Regions from separate parts of the Homo sapiens genome. Here all the other regions are linked to region 5. The links are contacts of gene promoters, found by promoter capture Hi-C in blood cells and fetal thymus (Javierre and others, 2016). All regions are on one chromosome and are shown on one strand. Each heading gives the region's core, a stretch centred on a gene start or on the middle of the fragment in contact. The rest is flanking DNA. Distances are from core to core; before and after follow the strand shown.

Region 1 (4,183 bases), core at 1,574-4,073, 240 kb before region 5:
ACTTGACTCTGAGCATGCTTTTGATATGCAAACCAACAATCATGAGACCATACCCAAACCACCTCCTTTTTCTAACTCTCACACACCAGCCAATATTCCCCCTCCAGGGCCAGGTACTGAACAACTAGGGGCCACCCTGTAGCCCACCAAAATCATTCAAACTATCCAGTCCTAAGGTTTCTCAGCTTGCCAATCCTGTCTCATCCATTCCTTCCCATAAAACCTACAATAAAGGCTCTGGGCCCATGCTTTCTCCTCACTCCTGACTCCTGACTGACCCTGGTGCCTCCCATGTGGCCCTTGCATGGCCATGGCTTGGCAAGCCCCCTCCTCTTGAGAACTGTGAGTAACAAACTATCTTTTCAATGGCAGTTGCCTTGTGATCTGCTGGGCTCACCATACCTCAATTTTTAAAGATTCTTGGTTATATTTTAAAACAATCTAACCCCAGGTGCTAACTCTGGTGGCTGCTTAATAGCTGTCCCAAGTGAGGGATGAGAAAAATCTTCAGGTTGAGTCAAAATATCAATGTCTGCCCTGAGCATGGGTTGTGAGGAATAAAGATGTGAGAGAAAGGGTTTGTCCTCCCTGACACAGATGATCTCTAGGGGCCCTTGCAGCTCTAATATCTAAGCATTTTAGAAAGTATTTTAAGGCCAGGCACAGTAGCTCATGCCTATAATCCCAGCACCTTGGGAGGCTGAGGTGGGCAGATCACTTGAGGTCGGGAGTTCGAGACCAGCCTGGGCAACATGGCAAAACCCCCATCTCTACTAAAAATACAAAAATTAGCCAGGCATGGTGCCACATGCCTGTAATCCCAGCTACTCGGGTGGCTGAGGCAGGAGAATCTCTTGAACCCAGGAGGTGGAGGCTGCAGTGAACTGAGATCACACCACTGCACTCCAGCCTGGGCAACAAAGCAAGACTCTGTCTCAAAAAAAAAAAAAAAAGAAAGAAAGGAAGAAGAGGAACAGGAGGGAGGAGGAGGGATCTGAGCTAGCACGCTCAGCCCCTTGCCAAGTGATACCCTGCACTGTCTCAGGACTCTTCAGAGTCCTCACCAGCAAAAAGTCCCCCACCAGATGCAGCCCCTTGACCTTAGACTTCTCAGCCCCCACAACTGTAAGAAAGAAATTCATTTCCTTTAAAATTACCCAGTTTCAGGTATTCTGTTATAAGCAACAGAAACTGGACTAAGACAGGAAAACACAAACATTCAGTCCATTGCCTTCCAACACCTGCCTGCCCCCGACAATTCATGTGCTTCTCACATGCAAACTACATTCAATTCCATCCAAACATCCCCCCAAATCTTAACTCATTCCAGTATGAACTCTAAAGTCTAAAGCCAAAAGTCTCATCTAAAGATCATCTAAATCAGGTATGGGTGAAACTCACCCTGAAGCAAAATTCCTCTTCAGCTGCTTAAAAGAAACCAAAGTATTTGCTTCCAAAATACAATGATGGGACACAAAGAGGGTCTATAAACATTCCCATTCCAAAAGGGAGAAACAGGGAAGGAGGACGGGGTGACAAGTCCCAAGCAAGTCCAAAACCTAGCAAGGGAAGTTCTGTGAGATCTTGAGACTCAGGTAATCCTCTTTGGCTTGAAGCTTTGCCTCCAGACCTACTGGGGTGTCAGTCCCTCATGCCAGACCCACTGAGGGGGCAATGTCACCCTCACAGTGAGAGACAGGACTAGCTGGATTTCCTAGGCTGACTAAGAATCCCTAAGCCTAGGTGGGAAGGTGACCGCAATCCACCTTTAAACACGGGGCTTGCAACTTAGCTCACACCCGACCAATCAGGGAGTAAAGAGAGCTCACTAAAATGCTAATTAGGCAAAAACAGGAGGTAAAGAAATAGCTAATCATCTATCACCTGAGAGCACAGCGGGAGGGACAATGATAGGGATATAAACCCAGGCATTCGAGCCCGCAACGGCTACCCTCTTTGGGTCTCCTCCCTTTGTATGGGAGCTCTGTTTTCACTCTATTAAATCTTGCAGCTGCACTCTCTTCTGGTCCGTGTTTGTTACGGCTCGAGCTGAGCTTTCACTTGCAGTCCACCACTGCTGTTTGCCGCCGTCGCAGACCCGCCATTGACTTCCATCCCTCCAGATCCGGCAGGGTGTCCGCTGTGCTCCTGATCCAGCAAGCCGTCCACTGCTGCTCCCGATCGGGCTAAAGGCTTGCCATTGTTCCTGCATGGCTAAGTGCCTGTGTTTGTCCTAATCGAGCTGAACACTAGTCACTGGGTTCCACGGTTCTCTTCCGTGACCCACGGCTTTTAATAGAGCTATAACACTCACGCATGGCCCAAGACTCCATTCCTTGGAATCCGTGAGGCCAAGAACCCCAGGTCAGAGAACCCGAGGCTTGCCACCATCTTGGAAGCAGCCCACCACCATCTTGGGAGCTCTGGAAGCAAGGACCCCCACCCCCCGGCCCGGTAACAACAGTTTGGCAGCACTCACTGCTCATGCTGTGGTTGTCAGGGCAGGAGTTGTAGCCTCAGGGCTCTGCTGGGAGCCTCCATCCCCACCGCTCTACTGGGCATTGGTCTCACCCTTTGAAATGGAGGTGGAGGCTGGGAGTGGTGGCTCACACCTGTAATCCCAGCACTTTGGGAGGCCAGGACAGGCCAGTCACAAGGTCAGGAGATCGAGACCATCCTGGCTAACAGGGTGAAACCCCGTCTCTACTAAAAATACAAAAAATTAGCTGGGCGTGGTGGTGGGCGCCTGTAGTCCCAGCTACTTGGGAGGCTGAGGTGGGAGAATGGCATGAACCTGGGAGGCGGAGTTTGCAGTGAGCCAAGATTGTGCCACTGCACTCCAGCCTGGATGACAGAGCGAGACTCTGTCTCAAAAAAAAAAAAAAAAAAGAAATGGAGGTGCAGGTAGTCCTATGCCCTAAGCCCATGTACTCTGGGCCTCTGATGGGACTGGTGACCTGGACGGTCTCTGAATCACCTTCAGGGTTCTTCTTCCCTTATCTTGAAGAACAGTGTGTGTTCACAGCCGAATAGTTCTATGGTTTGGTCCTATAGGATCTAAGAAGTTTAATCATCTTCCTTCATTTTGTCCCATTTTCTTTTTTTCTTTTTCTTTTTTTTTTTTGAGACAGAGTCTCCCTCTGTTGCCCAGCACCCAGGCTGGAGTGCAGTGGTGCAATCTCAGCTCACTGCAACCTCCGCCTCCTGGGTTCAAGTGATTCTCCTGCCTCAGCCTCCCAAGTAGCTGGGATTACAGGCGTGCACCACCGCACCCGGCTAATTTTTGTATTTTCAGTAGAGACAGGGTTTCACCATGTTGGTGAGGCTGGTCTTGAACTCCTGATCTCAGGTGATCCACCCGCCTCAGCATCCCAAAGTGTTGGGATTACAGGCATGAGCCACTGTGCCCAGCCATTTTGTCCCATTTTCTCTGTTTCCTTTAGTCCCAGTCAGCAGTGCCATTTCCAGTACAATCCCATCGCTATTGCTGTTTTGTTGAGATGGTTAATGAAGTCCACAGTTCACATTCACAGTAATCTCCTTGTCAAATAGTCCAGCAGATCCTTAGTGTTCTCTTCCAAACATGCTTTGTCATGTTTTGTAATATGGACAGGGACAGGCTGAGAATTTTCCAGACCCACTGAGGGAGCAATGTCACCCTCATAGCTTGGGTAAGTTTAAGTTCTGGTTCCTTTTTGCATAACAATTCTGTTTTCAATTCATATCTCTCTTCTCAAATTTGACTATAAGCAGTCAGGAGGAACCAAGCCTCTCCTTTCAACACTTTGCTTAGAGATCTCCTCAGCTAAATCTCCATTTCACTGTTCACAAGTCCTACCCTCTACAAAACACTAAAACGTAAACACAATTCAGCCAGGTTCTTTGCTACTTTATAACAAGGATCACCTTTTCTCCACTGTCCAATAACACGTTCCTCATTTCTACCTGAGACCACATCAGAACAGCCTTTAACCACCCATATTTCTACCACCAATCTGTTCATGATTACTTATGTATTCTTTAAGAAAGCAGAAGCTTTCTCTACAGCTCTCCTCATTTCTTTCTGACTGCTCATCAGAATCACCTTTAAAGGTCCATTCAATGGCAATATAGGATTTTTCTTTTTTTCCTTTTTCTTTTTTTTAGATGGAGTCTTGCTCTGTTGCCCAGGCTGGAGTGCAGT
Region 2 (4,110 bases), core at 1,498-3,997, 130 kb after region 5:
AAAACACACCTCTGGGAGGCCAGGTGCAGTGGCTCACACCTGTAATCCCAGCACTTTGGGAGGCCGAGGCAGTTGGATCATTTGAGATCAGGAGTTCAAAACCAGCCTGGCCAACATGGTGAAAACCCATCTCTACTAAAAATACAAAAATTAGCCGGGCAGTAGTGGCATGTGTCTGTAATCCCAGCTACTCGGGAGGCTGAGGCAGGAGAATCGCTTGAACCTGGGAGTTGGAAGTTGTGGTGAGCCAAGATCATGCCACTGCACTCCAGTCTGGGTGACAGTGAGACCCTGTACCCCCTTCCCCCCCCAAAAAAAAACCTCTGGGCATTACATGTTACGTTTAAAAAATAAAGAAGAGGCCAGGCACGGTGGCTCATGCCTGTAATCCCAACAATTTGGGAGGCCGAGGCGGGCGAATCATCTGAGGTCACGAATGCGAGACCAGCCTGACCAACATGGTGAAACCTTGGTCTCTGCTAAAAGTACAAAAGATTGGGCCAGGGGCCGTGGCTCATGTCTGTAATCCCAGCAATTTGGGAGGCCAAGGCAGGCGGATCATTTGAAGTCAGGAGTTCAAGACCAGCCTGGCCAACATGGTGAAACCCCATCTCTACTAAAAATACAAAAATTAGCTGAGCAGTAGTGGCACATGTCTGTAATCCCAGCTACTCGCAAGGCTGAGGCAGGAGAATCACTTGAACCTGGGAGGCAGAGGTTGCAGTGAGCCGAGATCGCACCATTGCACTCCAGCCTGGACGACAGAGCGAGACTCTGTCTTTAAAAAAAAAAAAAAAAGGCCGGGCACAGTAGCTCACCCCTGTAATTCCAGCACTCTGGGAGGCCGAAGTGGGCGATCACGAGGTCAGGAGTTTGAGACCAGCCTGACCAACATGGTGAAATCCTGTCTCTAATAAAAATACAAAAATTAGCCAGGCGCGGTGACAGGTGCCTGTAATCCCAGCTACTCGGGAGGCTGAGGCAGGAGAATTGCTTGAGCCTGGGAGGTGGAGGTTGCAGTGAGCCGAGACCGTGCCACTGCACTCCAGCTTGGGCAAAAGAGCGAGACTCCATATAAAAAAAAAGAAAAGTACCTAAAATTTGCCAGGTGTGGTGGCACATGCCTGTAATCCCAGGTACTCAGGAGGCTGAGGCAGGAGAATCGCTTGAACCCGGGAGGCGGAGGTTGCAGTGAGCTGAGATCGCGCCATTGCACCCCAGCCTGGGTGACAGAGGGAAACCCTGTTTCAAAATAAATAAATAAATAAATAAAATAAAATAAAATAAAATAAAATAAGAGAGTATAGGGCCAGGTATGGTGGTTTATGCCTGTAATCCCACTTTGGGAGGCCACGGCAGGTATATCACTTGAGGCCAGGAGTTTGAGACTAGCCTGGGCAACATGGTGAGACCCTGTCTCTACTAAAAATACAAAAATTAGCTGGGCGTGGTTGCGCGTCTGTAATCCCAGGTACTTGGGAGGCTGAGGCACGTGAATCGCTTGAACCTGGGAGGCAGAGGTTGCAGTTAGCAGAGATCATGCCACTGCACTCCAGTCTGGGCAATAGAGTGAGACTCCGTTTCAAAAAAAAAAAAAAAAAAAAAAGAGAGAGAGTACAGCAAAGTTGAGGAGAAAAAATAAAGGTTATTAGGGAGCCATCAGTCTGGTTACAGAGATTCAGCAACCAGGCTTGGAGGGGTAGCAGTGTGATAGGTTAGAAAGAGCTAGCAAGGGTCGGGTGTGGTGGCTTACACCTCTAATCCCAGCACTTTGGGAGGCCGAGGCAGGCAGATCACTTGAGGTCAGGAGTTCGAAACCAGCCTGGCCATCATGGTGAAACCCCGTCTCTACTAAAAACACAAAAAATTAGCTGGGTGTGGTGGCAGATGCCTGTAATCGCAACTAGAGAGGTTGAGACAAGATAATTACCTGAACCTGGGAGGCAGAGGTTGCAGTGAGCCGAGATCATGCCACTGCACTCCAGCCTGGGTGACAGGGCGAGATTGTCTCAAAAAAAAAAAAAAGAGATAACAAGTATGGTGGTCACAGTCTAGGGTAGTCACGGTGACCAAGCCCAGTTCCAGCCCTCAGAGGTCACAGTCTGGTGGGGGAAATGGAGGGACCAGGCCTGATGCTTGTTCTAGGAGTCAGTGTCTGGTTGAGAAATTGCGGGAAAATACTTTTTCCCAGCCTTCAAGAAGATACTTGTGTTCATTTAAATTCTCCCAAAATCTCAACATCTGTTCCAAAATTCAGTTGGTTGCTTGTTCCTCTGCCTTTCAGATATTTGTCTTTGTCCTTTCCACCATCTTAAATACCTCTGTTGTCTGCCAGGAAATATCCTCATAGACTTCTTTATCAGTTTCAAAAGTGGATTTGCAAGAAAAGCTTCTTTCCCCCTCTGCCCTCAGTGGCATTTTTCAATCGAGCCCTCACTCACCTGACTTTACTGTTTTACCGCCTCACCCATTTACAGGCTTGCATATCTTCAGAACAGTTCAATTCTATTCCTCAGCTTCTTCAAAGACCAAATGGAAGTAAGAAGCAGCATGTTCTGACTAACATCCCTTTAGAGAAATAAATTAGATGAAACACTTGCAGCAGTTAAAATTGTGCCTGGTGATTGGTCTTTAAAAATACTGTCTTTTGTTTGCATATTGTCTTCCTCCATGCCCTCTTCCTTTCTAAATTCTTTTATCCATCCTTCTGGAATCTGTTTCTCCCAAGGACTTTTATCCCTCTTGGCCTGCATGGGCTATGTTCACTGCACAGTGTAAAACAAGGACAGGAGACTCTTTGCCAAAGTTAAAAGCGCATCAAACACGCCTAGCTTTTATTATTTTAATCACAAACCTATAGACCCCTCAGTATACCCTCCATGGGGCCTGGCCCCAGCAATCCAAAGCTGACAACCTTGGGTGTAGGTATGAGGGGTGGGAATGGAGGGGGGAGTGTCTCTTGATAACTCTGAAATGGGGTGATTCCTCCAAATGAAGAACTGGGTGGGGAACAGAGGTTGGGGTGGCCTAGATTCTCAGTATGCGGAGCAATAAAAAAATCAGATAAACAAATGAGGGGGTACAATATGCTTTTACAACCCTCCTCCAAGCTTCTGCCTTGCTGGGGGAAGGCTTCCAGTTTTTCCTGGGCTGGGGAGGTCCCAGGATAGCCCCTTCCTTCATCCTCTTGCCCTACATGTTGAAAAAGAATACTGAGGTACTGGTTCTGGTAACCTGAACTCAGTCCCCCACTAATACCCATCACCTTCCCAAACTGCCCCTCAAGGAAGAAGGCAGGACTCTGCCCAAGGGTGGGGGCCTCTCACTCCAGATATAGGTCTGGAAAATTCATCCATGAAATTTCATAATCTGTCCCCTTCCCCAAGAGCAAGGTTGGCTCAGAGCCCTCCTAGGTTAGGTCAGGTTGGTCCCAGGTTAAGGCAGGGGAGCTTAAGTACCACTCCTCCCTGCAGTGTGGAATGCTTAGATGGGATGTTGCTGAGGGACAAGGGTGGGGCTGTGATCTCCACAAGCACTAGCGGTGGCCTGGTCCTACTGATTCTTTCACACCTGAAATACCTGTGCTGGGCTGTTCCTATAGGGAAGGGGTGGGGCCTGGCTCCTCCATTCCTAGAAGGCCAGGAGAGTTCCCAGGGGAAGGGGCTGGGTCTCATCCTCACTTCTGTTCCTTGCCTGGGCAGAGCAGGGCAGGGTTCATGGGGAAGGGGCAGAGCTTAAACCCCCAGGGCTGGGACCTCCATTACTTGACTCCTCTTCTGTGCCAGGACGGACTAGACTGGTGGTTCCAAGACAAAGGATGGAGCAACATCCTGACATCTCCCTTTCCCAGGAGACCTGGCTAGGACAGTCCCTAGGGGACAGGGTCGAGACCTCATCCTGTCTCCTTCCCTCACCTGGGCAAGGATGAGTCCCACAGGGGCAGGGGTGAGGCTGTGATCCCCAGGGGGCAGGCCCTGATCTCATGTCCTTCTCCAGCCTTCTCCTTCTGAAATACCTGCACTGGGCGGTTCCTTTGGGGAAGGTGCAGGGCCTCATCTGACTCCTCCTCCTTGCCTGATTACAGGGGTGGGGCCTGATCACATCTCCTCT
Region 3 (3,763 bases), core at 1,087-3,586, 200 kb before region 5:
ACAGACAGTAAGGGGGAGAGGAGGATTTGAACCTAGTAATCCTCACTCTAGAGCCCATGCTTTTTAATCACCGCATGAAGTCATTCCAGAAAAGGGGTGGGGTGGGGTAGGTGTTATCCATCAGCTTTGGGATGGAAGCCCCATGAAGGCTGGCCCAAAGATCTCACTACTTACGGTACCCCCGTCCCCCTACCCACCCCCAACAGGAACAGGAATATTACCTGGTGAAATGGCGTGGATATCCAGACTCAGAGAGCACCTGGGAGCCACGGCAGAATCTCAAGTGTGTGCGTATCCTCAAGCAGTTCCACAAGGACTTAGAAAGGGAGCTGCTCCGGCGGCACCACCGGTCAAAGACCCCCCGGCACCTGGACCCAAGCTTGGCCAACTACCTGGTGCAGAAGGCCAAGCAGAGGCGGGCGCTCCGTCGCTGGGAGCAGGAGCTCAATGCCAAGCGCAGCCATCTGGGACGCATCACTGTAGAGAATGAGGTGGACCTGGACGGCCCTCCGCGGGCCTTCGTGTACATCAATGAGTACCGTGTTGGTGAGGGCATCACCCTCAACCAGGTGGCTGTGGGCTGCGAGTGCCAGGACTGTCTGTGGGCACCCACTGGAGGCTGCTGCCCGGGGGCGTCACTGCACAAGTTTGCCTACAATGACCAGGGCCAGGTGCGGCTTCGAGCCGGGCTGCCCATCTACGAGTGCAACTCCCGCTGCCGCTGCGGCTATGACTGCCCAAATCGTGTGGTACAGAAGGGTATCCGATATGACCTCTGCATCTTCCGCACGGATGATGGGCGTGGCTGGGGCGTCCGCACCCTGGAGAAGATTCGCAAGAACAGCTTCGTCATGGAGTACGTGGGAGAGGTAGGGAGATGGGACCCGGTGTGTGTGTGCAGCTCTTCCCACCCTGTGTTCACAGTGTGCACCCGGCTCTCCTCACTGTGTGTCTGAAACTCCCTGCTTTCCCTATGGGAAAGGCCTGGGAGACTGATCTGAGTGTCACAGGGACATTGGGCAGGGGCTAGTATTCCAAGCTGGTACACACCAGCATGGCCATGCTGGTGGTTACAGGAACACCAAAATACTTCTGCACTGGGTTGACTTTATCAGGGTACTTAGCAAAGAAGAAAAGTGGGAGCTGAGATCCAGGCAGCCTTAGCATTCCTTGTAACAGGCCATGTGGTCTGGCATAGGGCTGCATCAGCTGGAAAGGCACTTCCTCTTCTCATTTCACAAGGGCCCATCTTATCACCAAGCAGTATCTGCCTGAGGAGCATTGTTTTACCAGTCTGCACAGAAGGAACGCAGTCTGGAGTAGGATGAGACATGCCTTGGACAAAGGTTGGCTAACTCCTTTAGACTTTCAGGACACTGGGGAAGGCCGAGTGTATTAGGCAAGCCAGCCATTGTAAAAACAACCCCCTCATCTTAGTGACTTTGCACATTACAAGTTTGCTTGCTCATGGAACAGTCCATTGTGGGGGTTTGAGTGGGTATCCTTTCACACAGCAACTGGGACACCTAGGCTCTTTCCCTCCTGTGCCTTTGCTGTGCCTTGAAGCCTTGGAGTCACTACCAGATCCTCAGCATTGCCTGGCAGGCGGGCCAAGTGGGGGATAGAAGGGGCCCATCCTAGTGGGCCAGGCCTAGATGCAGCACCCATCACTTCTGCCCATGCTCCACTGGCTGGAACTGAGTCACTGGCCTTACCTCCATGCAAGAGAGGCAACAGGATGTGCTTTAGCCATGTGCCCAGCTGCACAAGGCTAAAGCACAGCCATAACTAGCAACTAGATAACTAGCAAGTATCTACAACAGAAAAATGTCGCATTCTAAGATGGGATGCAGTTAGCATTTGGGATGAGATGATTTTTCGTTATGTAGAACTGTCTCATGCATTGGGGGACATTTAGCATCCCTGGACCTTGACCATTTAAATCCATGAGTGTGCCCTGTCATAGTGACAACCCCAGATACCTCTATATATAGCCATAGGTCCCTTAGGGGTGTGATATAGTTGGAAAGTGACAGAAACTGGCCTGAGGAACACTCACATGAGGGTGTCCACACTGTAGCACTGATACTGATGACAAGGAGAGGCTCCTACTCTGAGAAACTGTACAGAGGGTCACATCTGACAGGGACAGAGACAATCTTGGGTAGAACAATCTACACCACAGAGGACCCTGACAGTCTGGGCAAGGAGACAGCCACACCCTGTCCAGATAACCCTGCTGGCCTGCTGGAGGAGATGTCTACATGCCACAGGACCTGGCCATCTGGAAGGAGGAGGTGGGGAGGTGTCCACACCCTGAGGGCTCCTGACAGTGGGCGGGGGAAGGAGTCCTGATAATCTGCAGGAAGTCCATGTCCCACAGTGACCCCAGTGACCTGGAGGAAGAGCTTGTGCTCTCCACACTCTAGAGGACCTGGTGGTCTGACTTAGGAAGTGTTCACACCCATGTTGTCATGACAGGAAAAAGAAGTGTCCTCACCCCAGAGGGATCCGGACAGCCTGGAGATCTAGTCTACACCCAAGGGCACCCTGACAGTATCGGGGGAAGTGTCCATGCCCTCAATGTCCTGACGCTCTGGAGGAAGTGTCCAGAGGTTGAAGGAACCCAAACTCTCTGGAGGAGATGTCCAGACCCCATAGGACCCAGACAGTCCACCGTCCTAGGGGCTGCACAGAGCAGGAAGTATCTCAGCCTCACTGTACTGGCATCTGGAGGAAACACTGTCTACCACACAGGGTCCTGACAGTCGAGGAGGAAGACTACACCCCAAGGGCAGCCTCAGACCCTCCTGGGCCTGAGACTTTTCTGGCTGCTCTTCCTTAGTGTCAGTGTCTTTAATCCTCCCAGGGATCCTCTCAGCCCTGTCCTCACCCTTCCTGCTCTCCACACATTCTTGCTGCACTATTTCCTGACCGCCCTCCAGCACCCTCAGACCCATGGGTCCTCCTGATGGTGCCACAGGCCTCCGGAAAGAGCCAAACTCATCTTCCCGCATTCCCCTCTGAAGAGACAGTATAGCAAATGGTTAGGAGGGTGGACTCTGGATCCTGACTGCCCGAGGCTGAATCCCAGCTCCACTACTCATCAGCAATCACTAACCTCTGTGCCTGCATTTACTATGTAAAATGGGAACAATAATAGCACTCACCTCACAGGCTTGTTACAAAAATTAAATGAGTTACTATGTATCAAGCACTTGGAAAAAGCACTTGAACAGTGTTCAGTACACAGTAAGTTTGATACAAATGTTATCAGCATAGTTCAAACTTCAGCAAATCCAAAATGTCTGGAAGACCAAGTTTTTTTGTAACCCATCTGGCTACAGGACCCAGCCTGACCGGATAGGGTCCTATTTGTAGTTTTTATTTATCCTACTTGGGGTAATAGTCATACATTTCGTTGCAGCAGTTCTAATTTACTTGATTCTGTAGTGCCGTCCCAGATGCTGCCAGGGTGTTACGGAATCAAGGGCCTATCTGCACACCATGCTATCTACTGTCCTTCTTCAGCTGGGACATGTACTGACAGTCTGTACCAAGAGCTCCCTCCACGGGAGCTGCCCTTCCCTCCTTTGCAGCCTCCCACATTGGGTCAGAACTTTCACGTTCCTGCAGAACATTCCCATCCTCACCCAAGAGACAATGCCAGCCTATTTTATCCATTCTAAAACATGCATTTTCTTCCTATTTTAACATCTCGGAAATGAAGATGTCTTAATTAAATCATGGTGTATCATTTATA
Region 4 (3,861 bases), core at 82-2,581, 180 kb after region 5:
GGGTCTCTGCTCTAAGCTCCCAAGATCCCAAACAACATGGCCAGGAACCCTCCTTCTTTCAGGTTTGGCAAGCTCCAGGCCCACACTGACGTGGACCCCACACCTCCTCTTTACATGCTGGCCCTCACTGACTTGTCAGGAAGTAATGTGATAGGGGGTGCCCCCGTGATATCTCCTCCCCACCGCCAGCCAATCTTGATCCCAATGCCAGACATGGCCTGGAACCACTCCCAACCCATTTCTCATCTTCAAACCTGACCTAGCACCGGACTCTCTCAATAAATAGACAAAAGTGGGCTAGGAGATGCACTTCTTGTACCTCCCTGACTTGGCCCTGGGACTGCTATGCTTGGTCTGCCATCCCCAGGAACTCCTCTGCTCATACCCTTCTAACTGTACCCCAACCTATTTGACCACCCCAGAGTCCTCTCACACCTTTCCCCCTCAACCGGCTTCCCCAAACTCCTTCAGGATGCCTACCTTGGGATGACCCCTTCTCATGCCTTGGTAACTACCCTTCAGGGCCAGCCTAGACATTCCCTTAGATTGGCTTATGCCCTGGGGACTCTACCCTAGGATTCCCCCTAGCACTCTAAATTTTCCACCCCTGGGACATCTCCTTCCTTGTGTTCTGCTGTCCTTGACTACAACATAACCTGGCCTGGACCCAACCCCAGGAACCCCCCCCATCCTCCTAAGATTCCCCCTCTAGACCCCTATCCAAGACCCCGCCCCAGGGCACCCTTGCCTTCTAAGACCCTTGCCCAAAACAAACCACCCAAAACTCCTACCTAGGAGAACCTCAACCCCTAAGATGCCTGCGCAGTCCCCTACTAAGATTACTGCCATAGAGCCCCCAACTTCCCTTCAAATCCTCAACTCCCCAATAACTCTGGCCAGACATACTCCCTCCCCCATCCTCCAAGAGTCCAAATCTCCTTCCTTTCTTTCAGTTACACCCTCCACTGGAATGCCTCATGCTCTTTCTTTGGACAGCTCTGCCTTAGAGTTATTCTCTGGACAGCTCCAACTTTCAACACCCCTTTTTTGCACCTCCATTCCAAGACTCTGTCCGGGATGCCTCGCCCCTCTCCCAAGACCAGCCGCATGCTCCTTCCAACGCCAGCACCCACTCAAGACCTCTGCCTTAGACCCCTACTCGAAAGACTTCCAGCCTCCCCCAGACCCAACCAACCCTGGGATCGTGCTCCAGCTTCCTGCCGCCTTCACCGGCCTGACCTCCGCGTGTCCCTGACCCGGGCCCCAGCTGTCGGTGCCGCCCGCGGCCCGGTTTTCTGACCTCCCGGGCCTTGGAGCCCGGCTCGGGTGTTTACATCAGGCCCTACTTCCGGGGGAGGGAGCCTGTCGCAGGAAATGACTCACCCCAGCTGGAAAAAGGCGGCCACCGCCTTCCTCGCCTAGTTCCCGGGTCTTCGGAGCATCGCGAGTGACAGTGGGGTTCTCCGGGGAGGGCGCGGGGAGCGGAGGAAGGTTGGCTGGGGGACCGGAGGCGAAGGGGGTTCCTCAAGGCCGAGACTGTCTGAGGGAACCCGGAAGGGTGGGGAGAGAGAGCGTGCCTTGCCCCCAGCAAAGCGAAACCGGCCAAGCCCTCAGCCCCTTGGTCACCCACAATGGGGGAGTAAACCTTCCCTGCTAACAAGACGCGGACCTCCGCGGCGGCCGAGAGTAGCCGCCCCGGTTCGCAACACACAGTCCTCCCAGGCTTCCAGAGGGGCGGCGCTGGGGGTTACAGGCGGGGGCGGACCTGGAGACCTTGAAAGTGGAGAAACCTCCTTGGCTCCGGGAAGCCAAGGAACAGATTTCGCTTTCTTTCTCCCCACCCTGTCCCCCCAACCCCGCCAGCTCTGAGTTTTGTCTTTTGTGTTTTGTTTAGTTTTGTTTTCTGAGACAGAGTCTCGCTCTGTCTCCCAGGCTGGAGTGCAGTGGCGCGATCTCGGCTCACTGCAACCTCCGCCTCCCGGGTTCAAACGGTTATCCTGCCTCAGCCTCCGGAGTAGCTGGGACTGCAGGCGTGCGCCACCACGCCCATCTAATTTTTGTATTTTTAGTAGAGACGGGGTTTCACCATGTTGGTCAGGCTGGTCTCGAACTCTTGACCTCAGGTTATCCACCCACCTCGGCCTCCCAAAGTGCTGGGATTACAGGCTTAAGCTACCACGCCCGGCCTCTGCTTTTATTTTTACAAAATACAAAATAGCTTTTTGATAGTAAAAGGTATGAATGCTTTGGGTTAAAAAAAAAAAAAAAAAGAGGTCCTACCTATGATAAAGCTTTTAAAAAAAGGCCCCAAATTATATGCATACTGGAAGGAATTTTTTTTTTTTTTTTTTTTTTTGATTAACAGAGTTTGGCTCTTTTTGCCCAGGCTGGAGTGCAATTAGCGCGATCTTGGCTCACCACAACCTCCGCCTCCCGGGTTCAAGGGATTCTTCTGCCTCAGCCTCCCCAGCCTCCCAAGTAGCTGGGATTACAGGCATGTGCCACCACGCCCAGCTAATTTTGTATTTTTAGTAGAGACCGGGTTTCTCCCTGTTGATCAGTCTGGTCTTGAACTCCTGACCTCAGGTGATCCGCCTGCCTCGGCCCCCCAAAGTGTTGGGATTACAGGCGTGAGCCACTGCGCCCGGCTGGAAGGATTTTTAATTAAACTTTACATTAAGAAATAATAAATAGGCTGGGCGCGGTGGCTCACGCCTGTAATCCCAGCACTTTGGGAGGCCGAAGCAGGCAGATCATGAGGTCAGGAGTTCGAGATCAGCCTGGCCAGCATGGTGAAACCCCCTCTCTACTAAAAATACAAAAAGTTAGCCAGGCATGGTGGTGCGTGCCTGTAGTCCCAGCTACTCGGGAGGCTGAGGCAGGAGAATCACTTGAAGCCAGGAGGAGGAGGTTGCAGTGAGCAGAGATCGCACCACTGCACTCCAGCCTGGGTAATAGAGTGAGACTCTGTCTCGAAAAAAAAAAAAAAAGCCGGGCGTGGTGACACGCGCCTGTAATCCTAGCTACTGGGGAGGCTGAGGCAGGAGAACCACTTAAACCTAGGAGGCGGAGGTTGCAGCAAGCCCAGATCCTGCCATTGCACTCCAGCCTGGGAGACGAGCGAAATTCCCGTCTCAAAAAAAAAGGGCTGGGCATGGTGGTGCATGCCTGTAATCCCAGCAATTTGGGAGGCCGAGGCAGGTGGATTGCCTGAGCTCAGGGGTTTGAGACCACCCTGGGTAACACGGTGAAACCTCCTCTCTACTAAAATACAAAAAATTAGCCGGGCGTGGTGGCGGGCACCTGTAAGTCCCCTACTTGGGAGGCTGAGGCAGGAGAATCATTGGAACCCAGAAGGCAGAGGTTGCAGTGAGCCAAGATCGCGCCACTGCACTCCAGCCTGGGCAACAGAGGGAAACCCTGTCTCCAAAAAAAAAAAAAAAAAAAGAATATTCTTGAAAAAAAAGAAATATGCTTTTTGCAGTGGCAGTATCATAGCCAATGAGGTTTAGCCAAGGTGTGGATATTGCTAATTGGAAACTTCCCAATACCCCGCCCCGAAGACTTGCAATATAGTCGGCATTGGCAATTTTTGACAGTCTATGAAGACTGAATATTAAAGAAAAAATACAGAGAAATCTCATACTTTTAATACAATCAGGGTTTCACATTGATGAAATCCCCCCTTTACTTTTTTTGAAGTATTGTTTTGATGCTTCTGTTTTTTCATATATTAATATATAAGAACATCTTTTTAACTCATCCTTTTTAACTGGTTCATGATATTATGTAGCATTGTTCAGCCCTTCCCCAACTGATGGCTGCCTAGGTTGTTTCAGATACTGTGTCGTCAATTCCCAT
Region 5 (3,924 bases), core at 365-2,864:
AAAAAAAAAAAAAAAAAAAAACATGGCCAGGCACAGTGGCACACGCCTGTAATCCCAGCACTTTGGGAGGCCGAGGTAGGTGGATCACCTGAGGTCCAGAGTTCAAGGCCAGCCTGGCCAACATAGTGAAACCCCATTTCTACTAAAATTACAAAAATTCGTCAGGTCTGGTGGCACATGCCTGTAGTCCCAGCTACTTGGGAGGCTGAGACAGGAGAATTGCCTGAACCCAGGAGGCAGAGGTTGCAGTGAGCCAAGAGCGTGCCACTGCACTCTAGCCTGGGCAACAGAGCAAGACTGTCTCAAAAAAAAAAAAAACTGTCTGGCTTTGCACATACATTTAAAATTTGGTGATGACTCTTTGAACGACACAGCATTTCCACAGAGGAGCTCCAGTTGGGTGGGGTGGAGGGTGGAAGACAGAGGCCATGTTTGCAATCCCTACAAAATCCCAGATACAGGAGCCAGGCTCGGCACATAGTAGGTGAGTGGGCACCAGAATGAATAAGTGCACGTGACTGGCAGCTCCAAGCAGTTTTCAGAGCAGCCTCCCTTGTGGGCAAGATAGCTAACCCCACACCAACCCAGGGAAGGCCTGGACTCACAACAGGGGCATTGCGGAAACCCTTGATGGCCTGGAAGACTCCGCCACCGATGACACCCATAGTGAAGGCTCCACCGCAATCATCCACAATTCGCCATGGGCTGCAAGCAGGAAGGGAAGGACGGGGTTAATGTGAGCCCTCCCCCAGGTCCTGTCACACGAACTCTTTTCTAACTGGGAGAAACCAAGTCACCAGAATGGGAAGTTCCTAAGTAGGAACAAACACTTCAGATAATAATGAGCTAGTTCTGTCACGCTTTTTCCACACACCCCCCCATTAAAGCGAGAAATGGGGCAAAGGGGGAGAAATATTAGTCTTCGCCCTGTCTACCAACCAAGGAATCAGCCAACGGTTTTACTGTGATCAAAGATTAAATGAATTGGCACACGCAGAGTTGACGTTTCAATAAGCGACATAGGCGTGTTAACTAGCCAAGACAGACTGTCAGCAAAGCAGGACCGCGTCGCACCCCTTCTCCGACGGTGAGCCCGTCCAACCATGCCCCGCCCCTTTTCAATCCGGCACAACTGGGAAAAACCAAGAGCGACCGCGGGAAGCATCCACCGTCCCCGCCGGCCCTCAACAGGTTCATCCGTGCCCCGCCCCCCACTGACAAAGGCGACCTGGGAAAAACCACTGGCGGCAACTCTGGGGATTTCCGGTCAACACCGTACCACCCCTAGCCGGGATGGATCGTCCAGCGTGTCTTTTTTCGTTAACAGGGCTAGGAGATTACGAAGTCAGGAGAAACATGGCGTGGTTCGGCCTTCGCCGCACCTTCTCTGGTTGTGGCCCCTCATAACGGAGCCCGAATGACAGGAACCGAGTGGGGGTAGCGGGAGATACGTTAAGAGTCCCCCGAGTCTGGTACATGGCTCTGTGCGGCCGATGCCTCCCCCGCCCGACCCCCACGGCTGGCCTTGGCGTCGCAGCAATATTCCGGATGCCTGTGCCCATTGCCGTACCAGGGCTCCCGAGCGTACTCCTCCATGGCGCTGGCGTCTGGCCGCGCAGTCAGGCCACGCCCCCAGCGTAGACGCACACCGGCGTCGGAGCTTTCCGCCTATTACCGGGCAGCGATTGGGTCGCTATACCGCATGTCACGCCAAGGACGCACTCTCATTGGCCAATCGAGTTTCTGCCATTTGTTCATTGCCTCCTGAGCGTAGTCCAGTTACTTTCAGGCTCGGGGAGTGAAGGCCTCGTTGAGAGAAGGTCTCATTCGGTGTTTTGGGAAGAGAGTCGTGTGGGCCCAGGTATCGTAGCGGCGACACGAGAGAGACGGGCGGTGTGACAGCCTTCCACTACCTGCACGAGTGTATTGGTAACGTTGGGGTGGGTGCACTCTTTTGGAGCTGGAGGAAGTGCTGCCCTCTGCTCCCCCATCCCAGCGCTTTGGTTTCTCCCACCCGGCAGTCATGGGGACGCTGGATGAGCCCATTTCTGAAGTGCGGAGGGGCCGGGCTTCTTAGGCTGTGGGCGGAGCCTGGGCCTGGGAGAGGAACAGGGCCCTGGAGCACCTGGTTTCGGGGACAGTAGGGTTGGTGGGAGTTGCGATGATATTGCCACCTACCTCTTACATCTTTTAGTGCGTATGTTCTGTCCACCCAGCTACTGGTTCATTTGAGTAGATCGGAGTCAGATGAGTACATGTTTACGGGAGGCGCTTGGTTACGGGATCCAGATAGGAATCTTTATCTGAGCTGCTTGTCAGTTTGTTCGTCTGTCCCTAGGTCTGTCTGCTATCAGCTATGCCGCTGCCCGTTGCGCTGCAGACCCGCTTGGCCAAGAGAGGCATCCTCAAACATCTGGAGCCTGGTGAGACAGCTAAAAGCAGATGGTCCTAACACGTGCCAGCCTCGACAGGCACTTTTGTTGTTGATACTGACGCTTGATACCTAGCATGGGCCAACTGTGCACCAAGCAATGGGGTGGCAGGCATTTTTCGTTGTTAACAATGTGGATTCCTGACATCCATCCCTACCGCGTGTCAAGTGGAGGGGGTTGGGGGAATAGATATTTCATTCTTTTTTTTTTTTTTTTTTTTTTTTTTTTTTTTTTTTTTTGAGGCAGAGTCTTATTGTGCACCCAGGCTGGAGTGCAGTGGCGCGATCTCGGCTCACTAAAACCTCCGCCTTCCAGGTTCAAGCGATTCTCCTGCCTTAACTTCCCGAGTAGTTGGGACTACAGGCACGCCCCGCCCCACCACACCTGGCAATTTTTTTTTTTTTTTTTTTGAGACAGAGTCTCGGTCTGTCGCCCAGGCTGGAGTGCTGTGGCGTGATCTCGTCTCACTGCAACCTCCGCCTCCCGGGCTCAAGCGATTTTCCTGTCTCAGCCTCCCAAGTAGCTGGGATTACAGGCACGTGATACCACACCCGGCTGATTTTTGCATTTTTAGTAGAGACGGGTTTCACCATGTTGGCTAGGCTGGCCTCTAACTCCTGACCTCAGGTGATCCACCCCCCACCCTTGGCTTTCCAAAGGGTTGGGATTACAGGCATAAGCCACTGTGCCCGGCAGATATTTCATTCTTAACAATACTGACTGGCTGGGCGTGGCGGCTCAAGCTGGCATTCCCAGCACTTTAGGAGGCTGAGGCGGGTAGATTGCTTGAGTTTAGGGATTAAGAGATTAGCCTGAGCAACATGGCAAAACCCCGTCTTTACAAAAAATACAAAAATTAATCGTGTGTTGTGGTGCATGCCTGTAGTCCCAGCTACTTGGGAGGCTGAGGTGAGAGGATCTCTTGAGCCTAGGATGTCAAGGGTGCAGTGAGCCGAGATTGTGCCACTGCACTCCAGCCTGGCCGACACATGGAGACCCTGTCTGAAAAAAATCCAAAAAAAACAACAAAATAATACTGACCACCTAATGCCTATTTGGGGCCTACTGTATGCCAAGTTAAATCCCATGGATTACTCTATGGGGGTGATGACATAGTATCTAATAGGAAGTACTGCTAACCTCTACTGCTGTCTCCTGTGTGCCAAGCGTAGTTGCAGTGAGGATCTATCATTTAGGCCTACTGTGCTCTGGCTGCAAATCACACCTTATTATCAGTAATACTAAAAACTGGCATCTATTTGGGGCTATAGTGTGCCAGGCACTGGAAAATATATCTTCTCCTTATTGATAACTGACATCTATTACAAGCCTACTGTGTGCAAGGTATAGACCTTGTGGTTAATAAAATTGTCAATGATCCCAGGCCGGGCAGGGTGCCTCATGCCTGTAATCTCAGCGCTTTGGGAGGCGGAGGTGGACGGATCACGAGGTCAGGAGATCGAGACCATTCTGGCTAACAGGGTGAAACCCC
Region 6 (4,036 bases), core at 961-3,460, 140 kb before region 5:
AATTTCTAGGAGTCCAGTGGTGTGAGGTCTGTCAACATATTCTTTTTTTTTTTTTTTTTTTTTTTGAGATGGAGTCTCGCTCTGTCACCCAGGCTGGAGTGCAATGATGCAATCTCGGCTCACTGCAAACTCCACCTCCCTGTTCAAGCGATTCTCCTGCCTCAGCCTCCTGAGTAGCTGGGATTACAGGCACACGCCACCATGCCCAGCTAATTTTTGTATTTTTAGTAGAGATGGGGTTTCACCACGTTGGTCAGGTTGGTCTCAAACTCCTGACCTCATGATCCGTCCGCCTCAGCCTCCCAAAGTGCTGGGATTACAGGCGTGAGCCACTGCACCCAGCCAATATATTCCTTCTAAGATGAAGGATAAGTAGTTGCATCTGGCCCCTCCTACAATCAAAAAAGAGGCACAATGCCTGGCACACCTATTTGGATTTTGGAAGCAACACATTCCTCATTTGGGTATGTTACACATGCCCGTTTACCAAATGACCTGAAAAGCTGCAAGTTTTGTGTGGGGCCCAGAACAGGAGAAGGCTCTGCAACATGTCCAGGCTGCTGTGCAAGCTACTTTGCCACTTGGGCCATAGGACCCAGGAGATCCAGTGGTGCTTGAAGTGACAGTGGCAGATAGGGATACTGTTTGGAGCTCTTGGCAGGCCGCTATAAGTTAGTCATAGCCTAGCCCTCTAGGATTTTGTTTTATTTTATTTTTTGAGACAGGGTCTTGCTCTGTCACCCAGGCTGGAGTGCAGTGGCACAACACAGCTCACTGCAGCCTTGACCTTTCAGGCTCAGGTGATCCTCCCACTTCAGCCTCCCTAGTAGCTGGGACTGACTGCAGGTGTGCACCACCACATCTGGCTAACTTTTGTATTTTTTGTAGAGATAGGGTTTCCCAATGTTCCCGAGGCTGGTCTCGAACTCTTGGGCTCAGGCAATCCACACGTCTCAGCCCCCCAAATGAAATTTGGTGAGCCTCCTTTAGGATTTTGGAGCAAAGCCCTGCTATTCTCTGCAGATAACTACCCTCCTTTTGAGAAACAGCTCTTGGCTGGGTGTGGTGGATCACTCCTTTAATCCCAGCACTTTGGGAGGTTGAGGCCAACACATCTCTCTCTTGAGCACAGGAGTTCGAGACCACCCTGGGCAACATGGCAAAAATCCATCTCTACAAAAAAATACAAAAATTATTAATAGCTGGGTGGGGTGGTGCATGCCTGTAGTCCCACCTACTCAGGAAGCTGAGGTGGGAAGATCGCTTGAGCCCAGGAGGTCGAGGCTGTAGTGAGCTGTAATTGTGCCACTGCAGTGCAGCCTGGGTGACAAAGTGAGACCCTGTCTCAAAAAAAAAAAAAAAAAAGAGAGAGAGAGAGAAACAGCTCTTGGTCTGCTACTGGGTCTTAGTAGAAACTAAATACTTGACCATGGGCCACCAAGTTACATCATTCCTGCCCATCATGAACTGGGTGTTACCTGACTAACCAAGAGTCGGTGTGCCCAGCAGTGCTCCATCGTCGAATGGAAATGGGAAATATGTGATGGGGCCTAAGCAGGCCCTGAAGACACAAGTAAGTTACATGAGGAAGAGGCCTAAATGCCCATGGTCCCCACTCCTTCTACCTTGCCTCCTTTCTCCCAGCCTGCAACTGTGGCCTCATGGGGAGTTCCCTACAATTAGTTGACAGAGGAAGAGAAGACTTGGGCCTGGTTTACAGATGATTCTGCATGTTATGCAGGCACACTCTGAAAGTGGACAGCTGAAGCACTATGGCCCCTTTCTGAGACACCTCTGAAGGACAGTGGAAAAGGACAGTTAATAAGGGGTGGACTTGTGATGGTAAATTTTGTGTCAACTTGATAGGGACCCAGGGTGCCCTGTTGAATATTATTTCTGGGTGGATCTGTGAGGGTGTTTCCAGATGAGGTTAGCATATGAATTGTTGGACTGAGTAAGGCAGATGGCTCTGCCCATTGTAAATGGGCATCACCCAATCCACTGAAGGTTGGAATAGAACAAAAAAGACGGAGGAAGGTGGAATTTGCTCTCTGCGTGACTGCTTGAGGTAGAACACCAGTCCTTTGCCCTTGGCTGGTACTTACACCATCAGCCCTTTTTTTGTTTTGTTTTGTTTTGTTTTTTAGAGACAGAGTCTTGCTCTGTCACCCAGGCTGAAGTGCAGTGGCACAATCTCGGCTCACTGCAACCTCCACCTCCCAGGTTCAAGCGATTCTCCTGCCTCAGCCTCCTGAGTAGCTGAGATTACAGGTGTGCGCCACCACGCCCAGATAATTTTTGTATTTTTAGTAGGGATGGGGTTTTGCCATGTTAGCCAGGCTGGTCTTGAATTCCTGACCTCAAGTGATCCAACCACCTTGGCCTCCCAAAACGCTGGGATTACAGGCGTGAGACACCATGCCCAGCCAACACCATCAGCCCTTTGGTTCTCAGAACAACACCACTGGCTCTCCTGGGTCTCCAGCTTGCTGATGGCATATTGTGGAACTTCTCAGCTTCCAAAATCACAGGAGCCAATCCTTGTAATATATTACATATTGGTTCTGTTTCTCCTACTGGTTCTGTTTCTCTGGAGAACTCTAATACACCCAGCAATTCCACTTCTAATTCTAGTACTCAGACATGTGCACAGAGCTGTGGGAACAAGGCTGGTAGGAACAAACAACCAGGAAAATCTTGTAAATGTTCACTGATACCCAAGGACTATTGCAGAGTGAAACGAATAATGAGGGTTCATGTTACAGCACAGAGTGCCCACTGGACGTGACACAGAATGGATGGGACTTGTGTGTACCTGCAAGGGTGGGGGTTATCTTCTACAGGATGTGCTATAGGCAGGGAAAAGCAAGGGGGAGTCAGTTACAGTGACCTAGTGCATGTGTGTAGTGTGCGCACACACACACTATGGAAACACAGGGAACTGTATCTGGAAGGAAACACCAGAATCTGACCCCAGTGGTCATTCTGGGGGAATGGGGATAGAGATGATTGCTAGAGTCCATGTACTGATGTGTTGTTCAAATCTTTTTTTTTTTTTTTTTTTTCGAGAGAAAGAGTCTCCTTCTGTCATCCAGGCTGGAGTACAGTGGCACGATCTCAGCCCACTGCAACCTCTGCCACCAATTCAAGTGATTCTTGTGCCTCAGCCTCCCGAGTAGCTGGGATTACAGCTGCGTGCCACCATGCCCGGCTAATTTTTGTATTTTTAGTAGAGATGGGGGTTTCACCATATTGGCCAGGCTGGTCTTGAACTCCTGATCTCAATTGATCCACCCGCCTTAGCCTCCCAAAGTGCTGGAATTACAGGTGTGAGCCACCACCCTCAGCCTGTTTTTCAAATCTTTTATACAAACCTGTATTCACATATTATTTGTGTAACTCTTTTTAAAGGAAAATCATATGCTTAAAAACAATATCTGGCCGGGCACGGTGGCTCACGCCTGTAATCCCAACACTTCAGGAGGCCAAAGCAGGCCAATTGTAGGCAACATAGCAAGACCTCATCCCTACTAAAAATACAAAAATTAGCCAGGCGTGGTGACACACACCTGTAGTCCCAGCTACCCAGGAGGCTGAGGCAGGAGGATCCCTTGAGCCCAGGAGTTTGAGGCTGCACTGAGCCATCATGGCGCCAGTGGGCTCCAGCATGGGTGACAAAGTGAGACACTGTCTCAAAAAAAAACAAAAACAAAACAATATCCACAACACAAAGTGTTTGTGTTGGGGGTAACTAGAAACAAAAATCTCAAACTCACATGCTCCAGGGGCCAGACAAGTAACCTGTAAGGGAGATGGGGGAGTTCTGCTCAGGGTAAAGTGAACAGCAACTGGGCTGATGAATGTTCTCTGACTCTCAGCAGCGGAAGGTGAGGGTGAGTGAAGGGTGAGTGGGGAGGAGGAGGAAGACTGCAAATCTCATCCCCCAAAACTCATCCCCCAAAATAATTCAGGAACATCACACCCTGGGGCTCAGAACTTTTTTTTTTTTAAACAGAGTCTCACTCTGTCACCCAGG

The links. The method cuts DNA at HindIII sites, captures the fragments that hold promoters and counts their contacts. A CHiCAGO score of 5 or more calls a contact.
Region 1: a fragment that was not itself captured here is called in contact with the fragment with the promoter of TIMM17B in region 5 in 11 of 17 cell types (naive CD4 T cells, activated CD4 T cells, non-activated CD4 T cells and 8 more); the score reaches 14.7 in naive CD4 T cells.
Region 2: a contact is called between a fragment that was not itself captured here and the fragment with the promoter of TIMM17B in region 5, in 1 of 17 cell types (non-activated CD4 T cells). The highest score is 5.8, in non-activated CD4 T cells.
Region 3: a fragment that was not itself captured here is called in contact with the fragment with the promoter of TIMM17B in region 5 in 4 of 17 cell types (naive B cells, naive CD4 T cells, total CD8 T cells and 1 more); the score reaches 6.6 in naive B cells.
Region 4: the fragment with the promoter of WDR45 here is called in contact with the fragment with the promoter of TIMM17B in region 5 in 11 of 17 cell types (neutrophils, fetal thymus, non-activated CD4 T cells and 8 more); the score reaches 14.5 in neutrophils.
Region 6: a fragment that was not itself captured here is called in contact with the fragment with the promoter of TIMM17B in region 5 in 1 of 17 cell types (megakaryocytes); the score reaches 5.2 in megakaryocytes.

What each region holds. Positions count from the first base shown.
Region 1 is chrX:48,652,836-48,657,018 of GRCh38, forward strand. All of the region lies in intron 1 of LOC124905186 (a long non-coding RNA gene), which reads left to right. Among named protein-coding and RNA genes, the nearest start is that of WAS, 29 kb to the right of the region's middle. The HindIII fragment of the contact is 2,419 bases long and covers 1,615-4,033 here.
Region 2 is chrX:49,025,930-49,030,039 of GRCh38, forward strand. It overlaps TFE3 (transcription factor binding to IGHM enhancer 3), which reads right to left. Exons shown (of 10, transcript NM_006521.6): 10 at 2,797-4,110. Among named protein-coding and RNA genes, the nearest start is that of TFE3, 15 kb to the right of the region's middle. The HindIII fragment of the contact is 721 bases long and covers 2,388-3,108 here.
Region 3 is chrX:48,699,885-48,703,647 of GRCh38, forward strand. It overlaps SUV39H1 (SUV39H1 histone lysine methyltransferase), which reads left to right. Exons shown (of 6, transcript NM_003173.4): 3 at 207-869. Among named protein-coding and RNA genes, the nearest start is that of SUV39H1, 5.0 kb to the left of the region's middle. The HindIII fragment of the contact is 3,918 bases long and covers 378-3,763 here.
Region 4 is chrX:49,078,556-49,082,416 of GRCh38, forward strand. It overlaps WDR45 (WD repeat domain 45), which reads right to left and starts at 1,332. Exons shown (of 11, transcript NM_001029896.2): 1 at 1,196-1,332. It also overlaps the pseudogene RNU4-52P. RefSeq lists enhancers at 1,283-1,783, 1,495-1,789 and silencers at 1,495-1,789, 2,032-2,101. The HindIII fragment of the contact is 3,362 bases long and covers 1-2,289 here.
Region 5 is chrX:48,896,154-48,900,077 of GRCh38, forward strand. It overlaps TIMM17B (translocase of inner mitochondrial membrane 17B), which reads right to left and starts at 1,615. Exons shown (of 6, transcript NM_001395498.1): 1 at 1,571-1,615; 2 at 606-705. The coding sequence starts at 1,596. It overlaps PQBP1 (polyglutamine binding protein 1), which reads left to right and starts at 1,777. Exons shown (of 7, transcript NM_001032382.2): 1 at 1,777-1,929; 2 at 2,339-2,423. The coding sequence starts at 2,357. RefSeq lists enhancers at 1,131-1,280, 1,311-1,510, 1,801-2,170, 2,221-2,440. The HindIII fragment of the contact is 9,862 bases long and covers 1-3,924 here.
Region 6 is chrX:48,756,767-48,760,802 of GRCh38, forward strand. No RefSeq gene overlaps it. Among named protein-coding and RNA genes, the nearest start is that of GLOD5, 3.0 kb to the right of the region's middle. The HindIII fragment of the contact is 5,282 bases long and covers 1-4,036 here.